Linked DNA regions of Homo sapiens: region 2 is linked to region 1. The links are contacts of gene promoters, found by promoter capture Hi-C in human tissues and cell types (Jung and others, 2019). All regions are on one chromosome and are shown on one strand. Each heading gives the region's core, a stretch centred on a gene start or on the middle of the fragment in contact. The rest is flanking DNA. Distances are from core to core; before and after follow the strand shown.

Region 1 (3,157 bases), core at 303-2,802:
TTACCCATCCATTTATCATCCTATCCACCATCTACTATCCACCCATTATCCACTATCCACTGTCTATTCACTATCCACCATCTATTCACTATCCACCGTCCATCTCCATCCACAATTCACCATTTATGCAACCATCATCCACCATCTATCCATTTACCATCTATCTATTCACCATCCACCATCCATCCATTCAGCATTCATCACTCACCAAACATCCACCATTTAACACCCACTTTTTTTTTTTTGAGATGGGGTTTCACTCTTGTTGCCCAGGCTGGAGCACAGTGGCGTGATCTCCGATCACCACAACCTCCGCCTTCCAGGTTCAAACGATTCTCCTGCCTTAGCCTCCCAAGTAGCTGGGATTACAGGCATGTGCCACCATGCCTATCTAATTTTGTATTTTTAGTAGAGATGGGGTTTCTCCATGTTGGTCAGGCTGGTCTCGAACTCCCGACCTCAGGTGATCTGCCCGCCTTGGCCTCCCAAAGTGCTGCGGTTACAGGCGTGAGCCACCGTGCCCCGCCAACACCCACTCTTTATGATCTACCTGTCGGCCATGTATCCATTTATGCCATTATCCATCCACCACTCCCTGATTACCATCCATTCCTTTTCCTTTTTTTTTTTTTTTTTTTGAGACGGAGTCTCGCTCTGTCGCTCAGGCTGGAGTGCAGCGCACGATCGTGGCTCACTGCAAGCTCCACCTCCTGGGTTCACGCCGTTCTGCCTCAGCCCCCCAAGTAGCTGGGACTACAGGCGCCTTCTACCATGCCCGGTTAATTTTTTTGTATATTTTTAGTATAGACGGGGTTTCACCGCGTTAGCCAGGATGGTCTTGATCTCCTGACCTCGCGATCCGCCTGCCTCACCCTCCCAAAGTGCTGGGATTACAGGCATGAGCCACCACGCCCGGCCATTCATTCATTTTTCACTCACCATCCTCATCCATCCATTCATCACCCATCCACCCTCTATCACTCACCATCCACCCCGTCAACCATTTACCATTCATCTGCCATGCGTCCATATGCCGTACACCATGCACCATCAATGTTGCTGTCCATCAGCTGTCCCCTACTCACCATCCACTACTCTCCACCATCATCCACAATCCACCCTCCTATACCATCCACATACCATGTTCCATCCAGGATCTTCCTTCTATCATCCAACCACCACCCACAGCCCATGGGACAGGGGCACTGCGTGGAGAAGTGGACACCCAGTTCCAATGGTGAGCAGACTAGCTCAGCCCTAGCAGCACACAGGACAGAGAAAGGGGTGAATTCAAAGGTCGTTTATTCCCCCTCCCGGCAAGACACCCATTTTACAGGGTAGGTCAGTCTCGCCAAGCCCTTCTTCTTTGCCCTTCTTCCTGAGAACCTAAGGTGTTCAGGCCCTGCAGGGGCGGGTAAGGGGAGGCTGAGAAGGTGCCTCCCAGGGGCCTGAAGAGTCGGCCCTGGGCGGGTCTGGAGGTAAATGTGTAACCGACCCTGGTGCCCCCACCCGACCTGCCTGGTCACGTGGGTCCAGTGGGGCAAAGTCTCCTGGTGGGGTGCAAGGAGCCGAGGCGAGATGGGCGTCCTGGGCCGGGTCCTGCTGTGGCTGCAGCTCTGCGGTGAGCCGGGACCACACCGGTGCGGGCCCGGACGGTAGCGGTCTGTCAGGACCCAGGGCCGAGGTCGCTCTAGGCCTGGAGGGTGAAGATCTTCCGAGGAGTGGGCAGGGAGGGCTTTGGAGGGTTGGGGGCGTGAAACTCGGCCCTGCCTCCCTCGTCTGGCGAGTGCGCAGCCCGGAAGTGCGCGGCCAGTGCATCGGGCGGTGCGGGAGAGGAGAGGAGGGGCTCCGGGAACCTCGGCCAGCCCCGGCCTCCGGCGGCTCCTGCCCTCGCGGTTTTTCCGTCTGCGAAATGGGCGCGGTCCCCAGAACCTGCCGAGAGCAGCGAGTGTGCGCCTGCGGGGCTCGGCAGACCGCCTCAGCTTCCCGGTCCCCAAGGGAGCACTGAGCCCTCCTCCGCCTTCACACCAGGCCGGCGCGTGTCCCTGGCGCCCCCTTCCCTAAACCCCTCGCGGCTCCCTCAGGACAACCCCACCCACCACATTCAGGGCCGGCCTGACCTGGTCCTGCCGCCCCCAGCCCCTTCTTACTTCTCATACCGGGTTGCGCTCTGTCGCAGCTCTTCCCGGCCCAGGTAGGACTCCTCCGGGAAGCCTTCCTGATTCCAAGGCCGAGAAGAGGTCTGTGCTGCCCCATCCTCCTCCATGCCCCAGTTGTCACTGTCCTTAACAACGCTGTCCTCTGCTCCAGCGCCAGGCAAACTGGGGGCAGTGCCGGGAGGCTATCTAGGCAGGCGTCCTGCAGGGCGCGTTTGAGCGGGCTCTGCAGGTATCAGTAGAAGTCCGTTGGAGAGCGCCCGGGCAGGGCGCCCACAGTCTGGCCGGGAGGGACCAGGGTCTGGGTCCGGGCCCCCGGGGATGGGGTTCCTATGCGTCCCGGGTGATCCGCGCGGACCTTCCGCACTTCTCTGGGTGGGTGGCCTTCCCTGAGAAGGGAGCATCCCGGAGAGCATCCCGGGCACTCAGTCGCCTCCTCCCCAGCACTGACCCAGGCGGTCTCCAAACTCTGGGTCCCCAACACGGACTTCGACGTCGCAGCCAACTGGAGCCAGAACCGGACCCCGTGCGCCGGCGGCGCCGTTGAGTTCCCGGCGGACAAGGTGCCTGGGAGCGCCGGCGGGGTCGGTGATGGGCCTGGACCCCTGAGACCGTGTGGCCCCGGTGGGGGTTGCTCCCGGCTCGGCTGAGGCAGCTTCTTCCTGCAGATGGTGTCAGTCCTGGTGCAAGAAGGTCACGCCGTCTCAGACATGGTAAGGCCGGGCTGCTACTGCCACTGGGCTGGGGGTTCACAGAGTCTCTGAAGCGCCTTCAGGGACTGCTGTGCCTTGAGGGCGGACCCCACCGGCATGGAGGCACTGCAGGACTGGGACTTTGGCCTCTGGAGAATATTCTAGGAGGCAGGGAGTGGGGGGGAACCTAGGGGAGCTTGGTCCCATGGTCCCAGCCAGGCTGTGTCCTGGGAGGGATGGGAGGCACCCCTGTCCCCACAGCCCTTGTGATGCCCAGCAGTGGGTGGTCTTCCCAGGAAGCGCCTGCTC
Region 2 (3,157 bases), core at 449-2,948, 570 kb before region 1:
GGAAGGAAACGTGGCAAGCTGCCATTGACGGTCCCTCAGTGTGGACCAGGCTCTGTCCTAAGCCCTGTAACTGCATGATGTGTATGGCTACTTGTGGGAGACACTAAACCAACCCCACTGCACACACCAGGCAGCACAGAATAGGGGCAATGGCGGGCTTACTTTCACAGCTTGGTGAAGAGGATTAAGTGAGTTAGTATTTGTGAAGCACCTACTTGGAGATATATAAGGGTTGGATAAAGAAAATTAATGGGTGAAGTAACTAGGATTTCAGATTTAAGTAGCATAGGTCTATAAAGACCAAATTTTGAACTCCTAAGTATAGTTGACTTTACATACATAAATATGAAAAAGGGGAAATAAGAAAAGATATATAAATTGTCAAATATCTTAATTCCTTTACTTGGTCCTTCCAACCACCCTCCAATTACATTGGAAGTGGCAAGCACTAAATTCAGCTAACGTTAATTTTTAAAGGACTTTACTTAAGTAGTTTCCCAAATCTTTTAAGGTTTGATATTTTATTTGGCCCAACCCCAAGAGGCAGGACTTGTCATTTCCGTTTCACAGCTGGGAAATTGCTTAAGGTTGAGCTGAGGAAGGATGAGGCCAGAACTCGATACCATGCCTTCTGACACCAAGTTTTTTTGTTTTTGTTTTTGTTTTTGTTTTTTTTGAGACAGAGTCTCGCTTTGTCACCCAGGCTGGAGTGCAGTGGCGCGATCTCCGCTCACTGCAACCTCCGCCTCCCGGGTTCATGCCATTCTCCTGCCTCAGCCTCCCAAGTAGCTGGGACTACAGGCGCCCGCCACTGTGCCTGGCTAATTTTTTTGGTACTTTTAGCAGAGCTGGGGTTTCACTGTGTTAGCCAGGATGGTCTCGATCTCCTGACCTTGTGATCCGCCCACCTCAGCCTCCCAAAGTGTTGGGATTCCAGGCGTGAGCCACCGCGCCCAGCCGACACCAAGTTTTAACACCCAATCCTCTGCTCTTTCCTGTGAGTCCTGCAGCAGCTCCCTGGTGCCACCTGATTCTAAGAAAAGCTGATAACAGGAGACTAAGGAAAATTCTGGAGCCTTGACCCCAGGCAAGAAGTCATGCTCAATCCTGCAGCTCAGCCATCAATAAAGAATTCAAGTCACATAGGCACGTGCAGCCCTGAATGAACAGTGCATAAACAGCAGGCCCTTACATTTCAACATCGGTGGCTTCTTCCCACAGCAAACACAGACCACAGTGAAATGTTAGCCCAGCTTAGGAAGAACGGTGCATGAAACCCCCAGAAGGTCAAAGTTATGAAAGACACAGACCAGGTCTGGAAACCATTCTCTATAACGGATAGAGGAAAATAGGAAAAATAATAATACCCTATAAAATCAACTTTTGGTTTTGAACATAGAATGAGAACTTATTCCCAAACCACTTTTCTTTTTCTTTTTTTCTTTTTTTTGACACGGAGTCTCACTCTGTGGCCCAGACTGGAGTGCAGTGGCTTGATCTCGGCTAACTGCAACCTCCGAAAGTGATTCTCCCGCCTCAGCCTCCCAAGTAGCTGGGATTGCAGGCACCTGCCACCACCCCCAGCTAATTTTTTGTATTTTTAGTAGAGATGGGGTTTCACTATGTTGGCCATGCTGGTCTCAAACTCTTGACCTCAGGTGATCCACCTGCCTCGGCCTCCTAGAGTGCTGGGATTACAGGCATGAGCCACTGCGCCTGGCCAAAACAAAAATTAAAAAAAAACAAATAAAAATACAACAATTAGCTGGGTGTGGTGGCAGGCACCTGTAATCCCAGCTACTTGGGAAGCTGAGACAGGAGAATCACTTGAACCCAGGAGGCAGAGGTTGCAGTGGGCAGAGATCACCCCACTGCACTCCAGCCTGGGCAACAAGAGTGAAACTCCATCTCAAAAAAAAAAAAAATTAACAAATGGGAGGGAGGGAACAAATCTCCCACGCAGAATAATTCCAAATAATTTATGTAGATACTGCACCCTCAAGCAGGTGGTGAATACGTCCCTACCCCCAGGTGTGGGCTATGCATAGTGACTTCCTGCCAAAGAGCACAGCGTGGGAGGAGGAGAAAGAGCAACGTCACAGCAGAGGAACCTGGAAACACTGCCCAGCCAGGTGATCAAGGTCAACTTCAGCAGTGGAAAGTCCTGGCTGTGCACAGTGGCTCACGCCTGGAATCCCAGCACTTTGGGAGGCTGAGGTGGGAGCACTGCTTGAGCCCAGGAGTTTGAGACCAGCCCGGGCAATAGGTGGGACCCAAAGAAAAGTCCTGATGACAGTATATCCAGTACGTGCCCTTGATATGACATGATAGAAATGGCACTTTACTTCTGTGGTCCTCCTCTGAACAAAACCCGTAACCTCAGTCTAATTAGGAGAAAAACATCAGATAAATCTCATGATGTTCTACAAAATACCTGACCAGTATCCCTCAACATTGTCAAAGTCATCAAAAACAGGGAAGTCTGAGAAACTGTCACGGCCAAAAGGAGCCTGAGGAAACAAGGGGACTCGATGTCATACAGGATCCTGAAGCCAAAACAAGACATGACGGAAAAGCTAAGGCAGGGCGCCAGGGCTCACACCTGTGATCCCAGCACTTTGGGAGGCCAAGGTGGGAAGATCACTTCATGTCAGGAGTTCGAGACCAGCCTGGCCAACATGAGAACCCCGTCTGTACAAACGAATTTTAAAAATTAGCCGGGCATGATGGTTCATGCTTGTAGTCCCAGCTACTCGGGAGGCTGAGGCAAGAAGATCACTTAAGCCCAGGAAGTAAAGGCTGCAGTGAGCTGTGATCATACTACTGCATTCCACAGCGAGACCTTGTCTCCAAACAAACAAAAAGGTGAAAATATAAAGATCTTAAATGTTTATGGGTAAGCTTCAGTTATCCAAGTTCAAATATGTGTAAAACCTGATTTCCTGTGCCTAGCAAAGAAATAAGGTGGTGTTATCTTCACATCTGGTGGCCAGTATGGTAGGTATTGAAATTTAGTTATTAGTTCATTAAACAAACACTTTAGTCTCTTACGTGCTGTATCAGGGATGGGCAAACTATCCCTGGAACACAGGTCAATTCTGGCCCATAGCCTATTTCTGTATGGCCCATAAGCTAAGATGGTTTTTACATTTTTAAA

Evidence for each region. Contacts are between HindIII fragments. The study calls those that stand out against the background at their distance.
Region 2: a fragment that was not itself captured here is called in contact with the fragment with the promoter of AMN in region 1 in 2 of the 25 tissues and cell types used here (dorsolateral prefrontal cortex and mesendoderm cells).

The regions. Positions count from the first base shown.
Region 1 is chr14:102,921,111-102,924,267 of GRCh38, forward strand. It overlaps AMN (amnion associated transmembrane protein), which reads left to right and starts at 1,553. Exons shown (of 12, transcript NM_030943.4): 1 at 1,553-1,621; 2 at 2,601-2,719; 3 at 2,825-2,869. The coding sequence starts at 1,579. RefSeq lists silencers at 1,777-1,976, 3,140-3,157. The HindIII fragment of the contact is 38,072 bases long and covers 1-3,157 here.
Region 2 is chr14:102,351,227-102,354,383 of GRCh38, forward strand. The region is part of intron 3 of CINP (cyclin dependent kinase 2 interacting protein); the gene reads right to left. Among named protein-coding and RNA genes, the nearest start is that of CINP, 10 kb to the right of the region's middle. The HindIII fragment of the contact is 9,147 bases long and covers 1-3,157 here.